Linked DNA regions of Homo sapiens: region 2 is linked to region 1. The links are contacts of gene promoters, found by promoter capture Hi-C in human tissues and cell types (Jung and others, 2019). All regions are on one chromosome and are shown on one strand. The core of a region is centred on a gene start or on the middle of the fragment in contact, and the rest is flanking DNA. Distances in the headings are between cores, read along the strand shown. Region 1 holds the start of FBXO28 (F-box protein 28). Region 2 has its middle 17 kb from the start of DEGS1.

Region 1 (7,064 bases), core at 3,966-6,465:
CACCTGTAGTCCCAGCTACTTGGGAGGCTGAGGTGGAAAGATGGCTTGAGCCCAGGAGGCGGAATTTGCAGTGAGCTGAGATCATGCCACTGCACTTTAGCCTGGGTGACAGAGTCAGACCCTGTCTCAAATAAATAAATAAATATGAACTTAAATAAATTTTAAAATGTAGGAGATATAAGGGCACAAATCCAATATACATAAACAGAACCATTTGAATGAGCTACTGGCAGGAACTGGTTTAAATTGTTCCCTACATTGTATTTACTCTATTGTTAGATCAGTATTATTCTATTCAATGTATTCTATTGTTAGGTCACCTAATCTGGATGTTAACTAGCTGTCTGCCAGTGGAGAGTTAAGGGAGTGGGAAGGCTTTTCATGTGTCCACTTCAAGCAAACAAGTAATGATTGGATTTACAAAATAAAGTTAGAGAGTGATGATTCATATTTTAAAGGATTTTCTATGGGTTTCCTTTAAATGAGTTTCCATAATGAATTTAAAGCATGATTCTATTTACAAAAATTATATTTCAACCTAACCTATCAAGAAGCCATCTAGTTTTAATTAAAAAGGTAGAAAATGAATTTAATTAAGACTAAGTTGTAATGGGTTCTATGAAGAGATAGCAATATCATAGAAGAAAAGTAAAATTACAATCTATTAGTGGAGATAAAACTAACATATTATAAATATGCAAACATGTCAGAAAGAGTCAATCATAAAGCATATGTTGAATGCTAAACAACCCAAAGTAGGAGAATCAAAGGAACAACTTCAAAACTTTTGCAACAATCATAGGTAAAATGATAATTGTTCACATGCCAAGTGAATGGGGAAAGGATGCCAATTCTAACAAGCTCAACACCACCAATTAATTTCTTTGCTTCAGTTGCCCCCACTTCCCTTAACCTTTAGTCATACTTAGTTTTTTCTGCAGTTTTCACATCTACTGTGCAAACATTAGATTCCAAAAGAAAGCTACAAAAGAAAGGACATATTGGAAGCTTTAAGAATAAGACCAAAGCACTAGGGAGAAGAAAGCTTCAAAATTTAATGATTTGGCAGGCATGGTGGCTCATGTCTGTATCCCAGCACTTTGGGAAGCTGAAGTGAGAAGATTGCTTGAGCACAGGAGTTCAAGACCAGCCTGGACAATATAGTAAGACCTCATCTCTACAAAAAATTTAAAAAGTAGCCAGGCATGGTGGCGCACACCTGTAGTCCCTACTTGGTAGGCTGAGGTAGGAACATTCCTTGAGCCCAGGAGGTCAAGGCTGCAGTAAGCCATGATCATGCCACTGCACTACAGCCTGGGCAACACAGTGAGACCCTGTCTAAAAAAAAATAGTGACTTGTATACCTTTATCTTTGTCATAGGATATTATAAGTATACAAACATACAGAAAGTTTAGGCAACCTTTAAATTTTTTTTCTGAAATAATTACAAGATAGTACAAGGAAGACTCTGGTATACCCTTCAACCAAATTCATCAATTAATAACATTTGCTGTATTTGCTATATTAACCTCATTCTCTATCTATTTACTTGAACCATTTGAAAGTAATTTGAGGCATCATTTCCCTCTACCCATAAATACAGAAATACCTCTGAGATATTGAGAGTTAGACCACACAGGCCACCATAATAAAGCAAGTAGTGCAATAAACCCAGTGACACAAGTAAGTTTTGGTTCCCAGTGCATATAAAAGTTATGTTTATATAAAACTGTAGTCTATTAAGTGTGCAATAGCATTATGTCTAAAAAATGATATACTTTAATTTTAAAATATTTTATTGCTAAAAAATGCTAATCATCTGAGCCTTTGGTGAATCATAATCTTTTTGCTGGTAGAGGGTCTTACCTCAATTTAACAGCTGCTGATCGATCAGGATGGTAGTTACTGAAGGTTAGGGTGGCTGTGGCAATTTTCTAAAATAAGATAGCAATGAAGTTTGATACACTGATTGACTCTTTCACAAAGATTTTTTCCATGGCATATGATGCTGTTTGATAACATCTTGCCACAGTAGACCTTTTTTCAAAATTGGAGTCAATCTTCTCAAACTCTGCCATTGCTTTATCAACTAAGTTTATGTAATATTCTAAATCCTTTGTTGTCTTTTAATAATGATCACAGCATCTTCACCAGGAACAGATTCCATATGAAGAAATCACTTGCTTTGCTCATTCATAAGAAGCAACTCCTCATCCATTCAATCCATTCAAGTTTGGCTTTTTTTCTTTTCTTTTTTGAGCTGGAATCTCGCTCTGTTGCCTAGGCTGGAGTGCAGTGGCACGATCTCAGCTCACTGCAACCTCTGCCTCCCAGGTTCCAGCAATTCTCCTGCCTCAGCCTCCCGAGTAGCTGGGATTATAGGCGCATGCCACCACGTCTGGCTAATTTTTGTACTTTTAGTAGAGAAGGGGTTTTGCCACATTGGCCAGGCCGGTCTCGAACTCCTGACCTCAGGTGATCCACCCACCTGGGGCTCCCAAAGTGCTGGGATTACAGGCGTGAGCCACCGCACCCGGCCTCCATTCAAGTTTTATCATGAGATTGCAGCAACAATTTAGTCACATCTTCAGGCTTCACTTCTAATTCCAGTTCTCTTGCTATTTCCACCATAGCTGCAGGAGAAGAAGAGAGATGGGGAAACAGCAGCCAGTCAGAACACCTACATGTATTGATTAAATTTGCCGTCTTATATGGGTATGATTGGTGGCACCTCAAAACAATTACAATAGTAACATAAAGATTACTGATCTGCCAGGCATGGTGGCTCACTCTCGTAATCTCAACACTTTGGGAGGCCAAAGCAGGCAGACTGCTTGAGCACAAGAGTTCAAGGCCAGCCTGGGCAACGTGGCAAAACCCTGTTTCTACAAAAAAAAATCAAAAATTATCCAGGTGTGGTGGCACACACCTGTAGTCCCAGCTACTCAGGAGGCCAAGGTTGGGGGATTGCTTGAACCCAGGCGGTGGAGGCTACAGTGAGCCATCATCCTGTCATTGCACTCCAGTCTGGGCAACAGAGCAAGATGCTGCCTCAATAAACAAAAAAAATTACTGATCACAGCTCACCATAACAGATATAACAATAATAAAAAGTTTTAAATATCAGAGGAATTATCAAAATGTGACAGAAAGAAACAAGGTGAACACATGCTGTTGGAAAAATGGCACCAAGAGACTTGCTCAAGGGTTGCCACAAACCTTCAATTCATTTTTAAAAACGCAATATCTGAGAAGCACAAGAAAGCAAAGTGTAAAATACAAAGCATGCGGCCGGGCGCCATTGCTGCCTGTAATCCCAGCACTTTGGGAGGCTGAGGTGGGTGGATCACAAGGTCAGGAGTTCGAGAGCAGCCTGGCCAAGATGGTGAAATCCCGTCTCTACTAAAAATACAAAAATTAGCCAGACGTGATGGTGGGCGCCTGTAATCCCAGCTACTCAGGAGGCTGAGGCAGGAGAATTGCTCGAACCAGCTGACATCGCACCACTGCACTCTAGCCTGGGTGACAGAGCAAGACTCCATCTCAAAAAAATAAATAAATAAATAAAGGAAAATAATAGAAGCATGCTTATCCTTCAATGTGTATTTCCTAAAGACAAAGACATTGTCTTATATGACCATAATACAATTACCCAAATCGAAAAATTTAATATGATTACAGTATAATCTAATATACTGTCCATTTTTAAATTTTGCCAGTTGTCACAATAACGTTCTTCATAGTTATTTCTTCCTTAATCCAGGATCCCATCCAGGATCACCCATAGATTTAGTTGCCCTGTCTCTTTAGTATCCTTTAATCTGCCACAAACCCTTAGTCTTTGTCTTTTGTAACGTTAACACTTTTGAATAATTTATGGGCCCGTCATCTAGCGATGTCTACCTCAAACGCAACTCGTGCTTTTTTTGCATGAATACTACATTATGCTGCGTCCTTTTCAGGGTATTATATTAATAGGCATATGATATTGGCTCCTCCTATAACTGTGGCGTTAGTCTTGATCATTTGGTTATGATGGTGTCCACCAAATTTCTCTATTGTAAACTTTTTTTTTTTTTCTCGCTCTGTTGCCCAGGCTGGAGTGCAGTGGCAGGCTGACGGTTCGCTGCAGCCTCGAACTCGTGTGGCTCAAGCAATCCTCCCATCTCAGCCTCACGAGTAGCTAGGACCATAGGACCTAGCCACCACATTTGGCTAATTTTTTGTATTTTTTGTAGAGATGGGGTTTCTCCACGTTGCCCAGGCTGGTCTCCAACTTCTGGGCTAAAGTGATTCTCCCGCTTCAGCCTTCCAAAGTGCTGGATTACAGGCGTGAGTCAACACGCCCAGCCTTGTAAACTATTTCTTTTCATCTTTGTAAATAATACATAATTTATGGGGAGTTATTTTGAGACTATGGAAATATCATGTTCCTCATCACGTTTACCTCCTAGTTTTAGTACCTTTTGATGATTCTTGCCTAAATCAGTTATTAGAATACAATTCATATATGATAAAATTCATTAAAGTATATAGTAATTCAGTGGTTTTTGTATATTCATACGGTTGTGTAACCATCACCGCTAATTCCAGAGCATTTTTATCACCCCGAAAATGAAACCCTTCACCCATTAGCACTCATTTCCCCATTTCCCCCAGCCTCTGGCGACCACTAATCTACTTTTTATCTCTATGGATTTGCCTATTTAAGACATCCTATATAAATGCAATCATACAATATGTGGTCCTTTGTGTCTAACTTATTTCACTTAATATGTTCTCACGGTTCATTCATGTTGTAGTTCTTATTGATATTTCATACCTTTTTATTTGCCTAAATCAATCATTTCTATGATTCCTAAAAAATGGTGCTAGTCTAACTACATTATTTCCATCTACACTTACTAGGCAACATCTTTATCATCCATTGTCAGGAAGCCCTTTAAGAAAACTGCACAGTGAAGTTCATTTTAATAAATAGGGTTTCCTTGCTCTCAAGTAGTTACTAATCTTAGACAAAAGGGTCTAGGATGACCACCTTTCTTGAGGTTTACATGATCTTCCCTGACTTCCACTTGAAAGGCACCCTGTGAGTCTCTCTCCGCCTGTTATCCCACAGGCTCCTCCCCACTCCTCCAGGTACCCCTTCCCCGGCGGCTGCAGGAGGAGGAAGTGACGCACCGGAAGTGTCCCTGTTCCCCTTGCTGTGGGGGTAAGGAATCAAGCCCCCAAGATGGCGGCAGCGGCGGAGGAGCGGATGGCAGAGGAAGGAGGCGGCGGCCAAGGCGACGGCGGTTCCTCTTTGGCCTCCGGCTCTACCCAGCGACAGCCTCCACCGCCCGCGCCACAGCACCCGCAGCCGGGGTCCCAGGCGCTCCCAGCCCCCGCGCTGGCTCCGGACCAGCTGCCTCAAAACAACACGCTTGTGGCGCTGCCCATCGTAGCCATCGAGAACATCCTCAGCTTTATGTCCTACGACGAAATTAGCCAGCTCCGCCTGGTGAGGCCCCCGCAGAACTCCTGCCTCCCTCTCCCCCCGGCCGAGGTCTGGGAGATGAGAAGGGAGCGCGTTCCCCGGGAAGGGAGCCCCCCGCGAGCCCCAGCCGGCTACAGATCTGGGAGGGAGCCGCTCCCGTCCCGAACTCTCCCTTGGCGTCAGTCAGCAGGAGTGGGCTGGTTCCCGATTGCGTCCTAGCTGCGGAGCTGGGGTTACTTCCTGAGGGGACTTCGCCTTGGGGGCTCCTTGCCCCCCGCCCGGAAGCGGGCCCTCTACGGGAGGGGTAGCGGAGTTGGTCTTCCCACCTTCCGCCTGGCCCGAGAGTAGACCCGGAGAGGTCATGTCGCCTGCCTTTTGTATGCCGCTTCCAGCCCCCGGCCTGGGTTTGGGGAGAAAACTCAGAAGTAGGCAGATGATCCCAGCCAGGTTTGGTTTATCTTGCAAGAATAACGAATTGTTCCCCACCCCAACCACCCAAGTTTTCTTGTTCGAGAAGATTGAGTAGACTAAGGTGGCTCAGTGACCCCAAACCCAGGTAGAGGTTCCGAAGAATTCGAACGTGTTTACTTAGCGTTAGCCCCAGCGCCCTAATTGACCACTAAAGTAGAGCCTTGGGAAATGACCATTCCTGCTTTGCCTCATCCTAACGCTTCCCACCGTAGAGAAGCAACTTACCCCTTGACGGGTTTTTTCTCTTTTGCAATTTATTTTTAACTAGTGATTTACGCCCACCCACCTGCTTTAGGAGAGGTTTCTTTATACCTTAAAATCACAATAGGTCAGTCCATGATTTTTAAAAATAATGAATTTGCCATTGGGGTTTTACTTCACTCCAGAGGTTTGAAGATGTGGTGATTGTTAGTTCAGTTAGATATTTTGCTGCCTTTCAATGAAATTATCTTTAAGTGGTAAAGAAATTGAAGGAGGTGGACATTTTGAAGTGATTGCAAACCGATTCCATGGAGAAGCTAAATCTGTGCTGGGAATTGTTTTTAAGAGGACAAAGATATTTCTGAATGTGCTGTGTATAACATCTTCTTATTACTCAATATGCTATATTGTAGGCATACACCTCCACTTTCAAGTGGATTATAATTACATTTTTAAAGGAAATCATAACATTTTTAAAAGAGAACTTATAAATATTAATTCAAACTGATGGCCAATTTTTTTTCTAGTCAACACAGCAGTTCAACCATGCCAGTCTGCAGGATGGAAAATTTCTTCAGCTGAAAATAGATATTTCACAATTGATTGCCTCTGAATTTCCAAAACGTTTTCATTCTAGAATTTCATGTAGAATCTTAAATATTCCTTCAGATTTTTACAAACAGTGGCGTTTAATCAAAATTCGCGCTGTACATATACAGTGTTTGGAAAATTGGGCATATAACATTTGATTGAATTGAACCATTCAACCAGACAATGGCTTTGTAAATCTTGGAATATTCACAGTTCTGTTTTGTAAGTGTTGAGAAAAACTGAGTTTTATTTGTTTGTTGATCATTTTACTATTTTAAAAAAATGTAGTGGGGAGGGGGGAACCAGCCTGTCCTAACTAGAGTT
Region 2 (6,958 bases), core at 1,767-4,266, 52 kb after region 1:
TTCCAGAACCTGTAATCTTAAAATCAGAGAAGTCCTGGCAGTAGATGTGCGCTAAGGCTACTGACATGTCTAAAGTCACCTTCTGGCCGGGTGCGGTAGCTCACACCTGTTACTGCAGCATTTTGGGAGGCCAAGGCGGGTGGGTCATTTGAGGCCAGGAGTTTGAGACCAGCCTGGCCAATGTGGCAAAACCCCTCTCTATTAAAAATACAAAAATTAGCCAGGCATGGTGTCGCACACCTGTAGTCTCAGCTACTAGGGAGGCTGAGGCATGAGATTCGCTTGAGCTGGGGAAGTGGAGCTTACAGCGAGCCGAGGTCACGCCACTGCACTCCAGCCTGGGCAACAGAGAAAGACTGTTTCAAAAAAGTCACCTTCCTGTATAATATATGCTGCTGGTCAGTAGAAAAGTAGCAACTACCAATTCTTTCACCCTGCGAGGGTGGGGTACTAGTTCTCTTTTCAAGACTACGTCCAGTTCCAAAACTAAATGGTTAGAATTTCAACAAAATAAAATTATATAAATCAGTTTAACCTGTTCCTTAAAGGTGTAACTGATAGGGAATTGCTGAAAACAATTCTCTGAAGAAGAGAAAACTTATCTAAGTTCTTTAACCCCAGCCTGTAGACAGCTTAAGATTTTCAGAAAAGAGATCACAGATAACTTTATACTGTGGGTGAGGGTGACAGCAGTGGTGTCAATTGTCCTAGCACCATTACTGCATTCTAGTCATCCAGATAGCCTAGAAAGATAAAGGTGGCTACTGTGTATCCCAGTCTTCAGAAGGTAGATGAGGGTGGAAATTTGAATTTTCATATTCTCCAGGTGGCTCAATTGCTGTGTAATAGATTCACGTTATTAGAAACCAAGGATCTTCACCAGTATTCTTGCTTTTTTGCTTTTCTTTAAAAACTTTTTTTAAAAGATCTCACCTGTATGAACTTTCCCATGTTAATTGCTGAACCAATTCTTACAGAATTCATTAAAGATGATGTTCTTTCCAAAAAGATGTATCTCAACTCGCTGGTATACATTCCTCTGGTTTTTTTGTTTGTTTGTATGGAGTCTCTGTCGCCCAGGCTGGAGTGCAGTGGCGTGATCTTGGCTCACTGCAACCTCCGCCTCCTGGGTTCAAGTGATCCTCCTGCCTCAGCTTCCCAAGTAGCTGGGATTACAGGCGTGCGCCACCATTCCCACCTAATTTTTGTATTTTTAGTAGAGATGGGGTTTCACCATGTTGGCCAGGCTGGTCTCGAACTCCCGACCTCAGGTGATATGCCCGCCTCGGCCTCCCAAAGTGCTGGGATTACAGGCGTGAGCCACCACACCCGGCCTACATCCCTCTGGTTTCTGATTAATCATTTCCTCAAAGCAAAATTAGAGTAAATCGTACACAGAAGAAATATGAGCAGTTGGGTGTTTGAGCAAAATGTACAACTGATAACTGGAAAGGAAATACAAATCAAAGATAAACTTCCCCTAATTCAATAAATTCTGTTCAAAGAGACGCAACTAAATAGCTTTCAACTTTCTCAGCTTTTGTGTTTTTAAACTCTTTTTTTCCTCTTGTCCTTTGGATTGTACAAAAGTCAAATTCAAATTAACTGATTTGTTAGGAATCTGTGATGCAGCAATGTAAATAGCAAAACTGACTCCAGAATACAACACCTAAGATATACTTTCCTGTGATAAGACAAGGGGAACATGCTTCCCTCCGCAAGGCCAAGCCAAAGAGAATTAGCTGGGGTGGGGTAAAGAAGAGAGGGCTAAACTGCTTGTTCTTTCTTTGGAGAGTTGGAGCAAGCTTACAAGAAAGTGCTCTTTAGATAAACAGTTTCTGTAACTCTACTGTAAGAGGACACTGCCTGTTACAGTGTAGCCCATGGATCAACAGCCTCAATCACCTAGGAGCTTCTGTGAAATGTAGAATCTCAGGCCCCATTCCAGAATCAAATCTGCATTTTAACAAGATCACCTGGTGATTAGTTTGCACATTAAAATTTGAGAAATGCCACTGTAAGGCACATTTGTCATTTTGAATCTAAATGCTAAACAACCCTTAGCTCCCTATATTTAGCAATAACAAAGAAAATGGAGAGAGAGAAGAGAGGAAGGAGAGTAAAAGGGAGGAGAAAGCAGGAAGAAAATACAAAAGTTAGTATTGGTCAGGGACAGTTCTTGAAACCAGTAGAGGTCATGACCATCAGCCATCCCAAACAGAAAACAGTTTCATCGCCTTTGGTGTCTTTTTTTTTTTTTTTTTTTTTTTGAGACGGAGTCTCCCTCTGTCGCCCAGGCTGGAGTGCAGTGGCGCGATTTCAGCTCACTGCAAGCTCCGCCTCCCAGGTTCACGCCATTCTCCTGCCTCAGCCTCCCGAGTAGCTGGGACTACAGGCGCCCACCACCTCGCCTGGCTAATTTTTTGTATTTTTAGTAGAGATGGGGTTTCACCACGTTAGCCAGGATGGTCTTGATCTCCTGACCTCGTGTTCCGCCCGCCTCTGCCTCCCAAAGTGCTGGGATTACAGGCTTGAGCCACCGTGCCCGGCCAGGAAATTTATATTACAATTCCCACCAGTATCAATCCAGTCACTATCATTTGAGAATAAAGAAATTATTTTTAAAAATACACTTTGGGAGGCCAGGGTGGGAGGATCGCTTGCATCTAGGAGTTCACGACCAGCCTGGGCAACATACCAAGACTTCGTCTCTACCAAAAACAAAAATTTTAAATTTAAAAATTAAAAAAAAAAAAATTAGCCAGGCTTGGTGGCATACACCTGTAGTCCCAACTACTTGGGAGGCTGAGAAAGGAGGATCGCTTGAGCCCAGGAGGTCAAGGCTGCAGCGAGCTGCCACTGCACTCAGCCTGAGTGACAGTAAGACCCTGTCTCAAAAAATAATAATAAAATATCCATCAATAGGAGACAGGGTTCATAAATTGGGATATATCCTTACAATAGAATACTAGGCACCAGTAAAAATAAGAAAATTATCTATATGCTAAGAAATATTTCTGGCCGGGCATGGTGGCCCATGCCTGTAATCCCAGCACTTTGGGAGGCCAAGGTGGGCAGATCACTTGAGGTCAGGAGTTCAAGACCAGCCTGGCCAACATGGTGAAACCCCATCTCTACTAAAAATACTAAAAGTAGCTGGGCATGGTGGTAGGTACCTGTAATTCCAGCTACTCGGGAGGCTGAGGCAGGAGAATCGCTTGAACCCGGGAGGCAAAGGTTGCAGTGAGCTGAGATCATGCCACTGCACTCCAGCCTGGGAGACAGAGCGAGACTACGTCTCAAAATGAAAAAAAAAAAAAAAAGGCCAGCGTGGTGGCTCATGCCTGTAATCCCAGCACTCTGGGAGACCGAGGTGGGTGGGTCACCTGAGGTCAGGAGTTTGAGGCCAGCCTGGCCAGTGTGGTGAAACCCTGTCTCTACTAAAAAATCCAAAAAGTAGCCAGGCATGGTGGCGTGTGTCTGTAATCTCAGCTACTCAGGAGGCTGAGGCAGGAGAATCACTTGAACCCAGGAGGTGGAGGTTGCAGTGAGCTGAGATTGTGCCACTGCACCCCAGCCTGGGAGACAGAGTGAGACTCTGTCTCTAAAAGAAAAAAATATATATGTATTTCCAAGACTGCTAAGGGAAATAACAAAATACAGAACAATATTACAGTATACTAACTTTTGTGAAAAATAAAGAGGGAAATAATATAGAGTCATGCTGAATAACCACATTTCAGTCAACAAGCAGCAGCATATTTTATGACAGTCCCATAAGATTATACTACCATATTTTTACTGCTTCTTTTCTATGTTTATGTGTTTAGATACACAAATACCACTGTGCTACAAGTGCCTACAGTATTCAGAACAGTAACATGCCATACAGTTTTGTAGTCTAGCATCAATAGGCTGTACCATATAGCCTAGGTGTATATAGTAGGCTAAACCATCTAGGTTTGTGTAAGTAAACTCTATTATATTCATACAACAAAATCACTTGATGCATTTCTGAGAGCACATCCCCATCTTTAAGCAGTTCATGACTGTACTGCTAAGTAGTGGCATGCATATGCATAAAGAAACTCTAGGCCGGGCACGGTGGATCATGCCTGTAATCCCAGCACTTTGGGAGGCTGAGGGGGGCAGATCACTTGAGGTCAGGAGTTTGAGACCAGCCTGGCCAACATGGCGAAATCCCACCTCTACTAAAAATACAAAAATTAGGCAGGCATGGTGGTCTGTGCCTGTAGTCCCAGATACTCAGGAGGCTGAGGCAGGAGGATCACTTGAATCTGGGAGTCAGAGGTTGCAGTGAGCTGAGATTACACCACTGCACTCCAGGCTGGGAGAAAGAGTGAGATTCCATGTCAAAAAAAAAGAAAGAAAAGAAAAGAAAAAAAAATTCTAGAAAAATGCACAGGGAATCAATAACAGTGGTTATATTTTGGGGTTTGACAACATAACAACAGGAACAGGAGCTGGGAGGAGCTTATCACTAGACACCTGTATGTTTTTCTATTTTTTTTTTGAGACGGAGTCTCGCGCTGTCGCCCAGGCTGGAGTGCAGTGGCGCGATCTCGGCTCACTGCAAGCTCCGCCCCTCGGGGTTCACGCCATTCTCCTGCCTCAGCCTCCCGAGTAGCTGGGACTACAGGCGCCCGCCGCTACACCCGGCTAATTTTTTGTATTTTTAGTAGAGACACGGTTTTACCATGTTAGCCAGGATGGTCGCGATCTCCTGACCACGTGATCCGCCTGCCTCGGCCTCCCAAAGTGCTGGGATTACAGGTGTGAGCCACCGCGCCCGGCCATGTTTTTCTATTTTTAAACCATGGAAGTGTATTCAACAATTAAACCAGCTGCTATAGACTGAAAGTTTGTGTCCCCGCAAAATGTATGCCTTGAAGCCTAATCCTCAAGGGGAGGAGACTAGGAGGTTGGGCTTTGGGGAGGTGATTATGTTCATGAGGGTGAAGTCTTCATGAATGGGGTTAGTGTTCTTTTAAAAGAGACACCAGGCTGGGTGCGGTGGCTCACGCCTGTAATCCCAGCACTTTGGGAAGCCGAAGCAGGCGGGTCACCTGAGGTCAGCAGTTTGAGACCACCCTGGCCAACATGTGAAACCCCATCTCTACTAAAAATACAAAAATTAGCCAGGCATGGTGGGGTGCACCTGTAGTCCCAGTTACTTGGGAGGCTGAGGCAGGAGAATTTCTTGAACCCAGGAAGCAGAGGTTGCAGTGAGCTGAGATCATACCATTGCACTCCAGCCTGGGTGACAGAGCGAGACTCCATCTCAAAAAAATTAATTAATTAATTAATTAATTAAATAAAAGGGACCTCAGAAAACTCCTTCACCTCTTCTGCCATGTGAGGTTATAGCCAGAAGACGGCCATCCACGAACAAGGAAGCAGCCCCTCACCAGATACTGAATATGCCAGTGCCTTGATCTTGGACTTCCCAGGCTCCAGAATTTTTTTTTTTTTTTTTTGAGACGGAGTCTCTGTCACCCAGGCGGGAGTGCAATGGCACGATCTGGGCTCACTGCAACCTCTACCTCCCGAGTTCAAGCGATTCTCCCACCTCAGCCTCCCGAGTAGCTGGGATTACAGGCATGCGCCACCATACCTGGCTAATTTTGTATTTTTAGTAGAGATGAGGTTTCTCCATGTTGCTCAGGTTGGTCTCAAACTCCCGACCTCAGGTGATCCACCCACCTCAGCCTCCCAAAGTGCTGGGATTACAGGGGTGAGCCACCACGCCCAGCCTAATTTTTGTATTCTTAGTAGAGACGGGTTTTCACCATGTTGGCCAGGCTGGTTTCGAACTCTTGACCTTGTGATCCATCCGCTTTGGCCTCCCAAAGTGCTGGGATTATAGGCGTGAGCTACTGTGCCTGGCCAGACTGTTTTCTTAAAAACCAAAAGCCTGGGAAGAAAAACAAAATATCTTGCAAATGTATTCTCAATCCCAGTCAATCCCCTGCAAAACTCAGACTCTGGAAGAATGAAAGCTATGCGCTCTTTTCTCCACTCATTCATATTGTTGGCTTCACACAGATAGAAAAAGCTACTTCATCCTGCAGAACTGCTCTATCAGTTCATGGTGTTTTCCTGGATCCTGGACCCCTGCCTTCCCCACCATGAGTCACCTCTGGATCGAGTCCATCTTCTATTTGGGATTTGGAACCAGACAACCTTTGTCCCTTTTTAGCCTCTGCTGCACTCTAAGCTGTGTGATCTAAGACACGTCACTCACATTCTGGAAGTATTCGCTTCCTCATACATGAAATGGGGGAAATTTCTCTAACCATAAGCCTGCGGTTTTGATTTCAGTGCTCACTAGTTCAAGACTTTTCTTCTTGCCTATGCCCCTTCACCCTCTTCCTTTGTCAATTTCCTTTTTCATAAGCTGTGGCTGCTGGTGAGTAAAATAGTCATCTGAGTACAACTGCTTTTGCATGAGCTAGACTTGGAAGGGTGCAAATGGAAGCAGATTCATTTCTTCTCAGTAACTGCTCTTTTAGACTGTCCTGTTGCATTGTTCTGCCCTGATCCCAGAAGGAATCTCAGGCAGATCCCAGAGCCTTGTAGACTCTCCTGGTCACTAACAAATTAATCACCTTTATCCAGTTATTAAAAAATCCAGCCCGATCCGAAGAAAGACTTTATTGTCTCAATTGATTAAAGCTTCTTTCCTCTTTTTTTTCTCTTTTTTTGAGACGGAGTCTTGCTCTGTCGCACAGGCTGGAGTGCAGTGGTGCGATCTTGGCTCACTGCAGCCTCCACCTCCCGGGTTCAAGCGATTTTCCTGCCTCAGCCTCCCAAGTAGCTGGGATTACAGGTGCCTGCCACCAAGCCCAGCTAATTTTTGCATTTTTAGTAGAGACGGGGTTTCGCCATGTTGGACAGGCTGGTCTTGAACTGCTGACCTCAGGTGATCTGCCTGCCT

Evidence for each region. The method cuts DNA at HindIII sites, captures the fragments that hold promoters and counts their contacts. A contact is called where the count stands out against the background at its distance.
Region 2: a fragment that was not itself captured here is called in contact with the fragment with the promoter of FBXO28 in region 1 in 1 of the 25 tissues and cell types used here (H1 embryonic stem cells).

What each region holds. Positions count from the first base shown.
Region 1 is chr1:224,108,896-224,115,959 of GRCh38, forward strand. FBXO28 (F-box protein 28) reads left to right here and starts at 5,216. Exons shown (of 5, transcript NM_015176.4): 1 at 5,216-5,501. The coding sequence starts at 5,235. LOC105373056 (a long non-coding RNA gene) reads right to left here and starts at 5,145. Exons shown (of 3, transcript XR_007066897.1): 1 at 5,040-5,145; 2 at 1,868-2,634. RefSeq lists enhancers at 4,859-4,988, 5,009-5,068, 5,209-5,278. The HindIII fragment of the contact is 33,635 bases long and covers 1-7,064 here.
Region 2 is chr1:224,162,850-224,169,807 of GRCh38, forward strand. No RefSeq gene overlaps it. Among named protein-coding and RNA genes, the nearest start is that of DEGS1, 17 kb to the right of the region's middle. RefSeq lists enhancers at 1-63, 6,272-6,958. The HindIII fragment of the contact is 7,720 bases long and covers 1-6,876 here.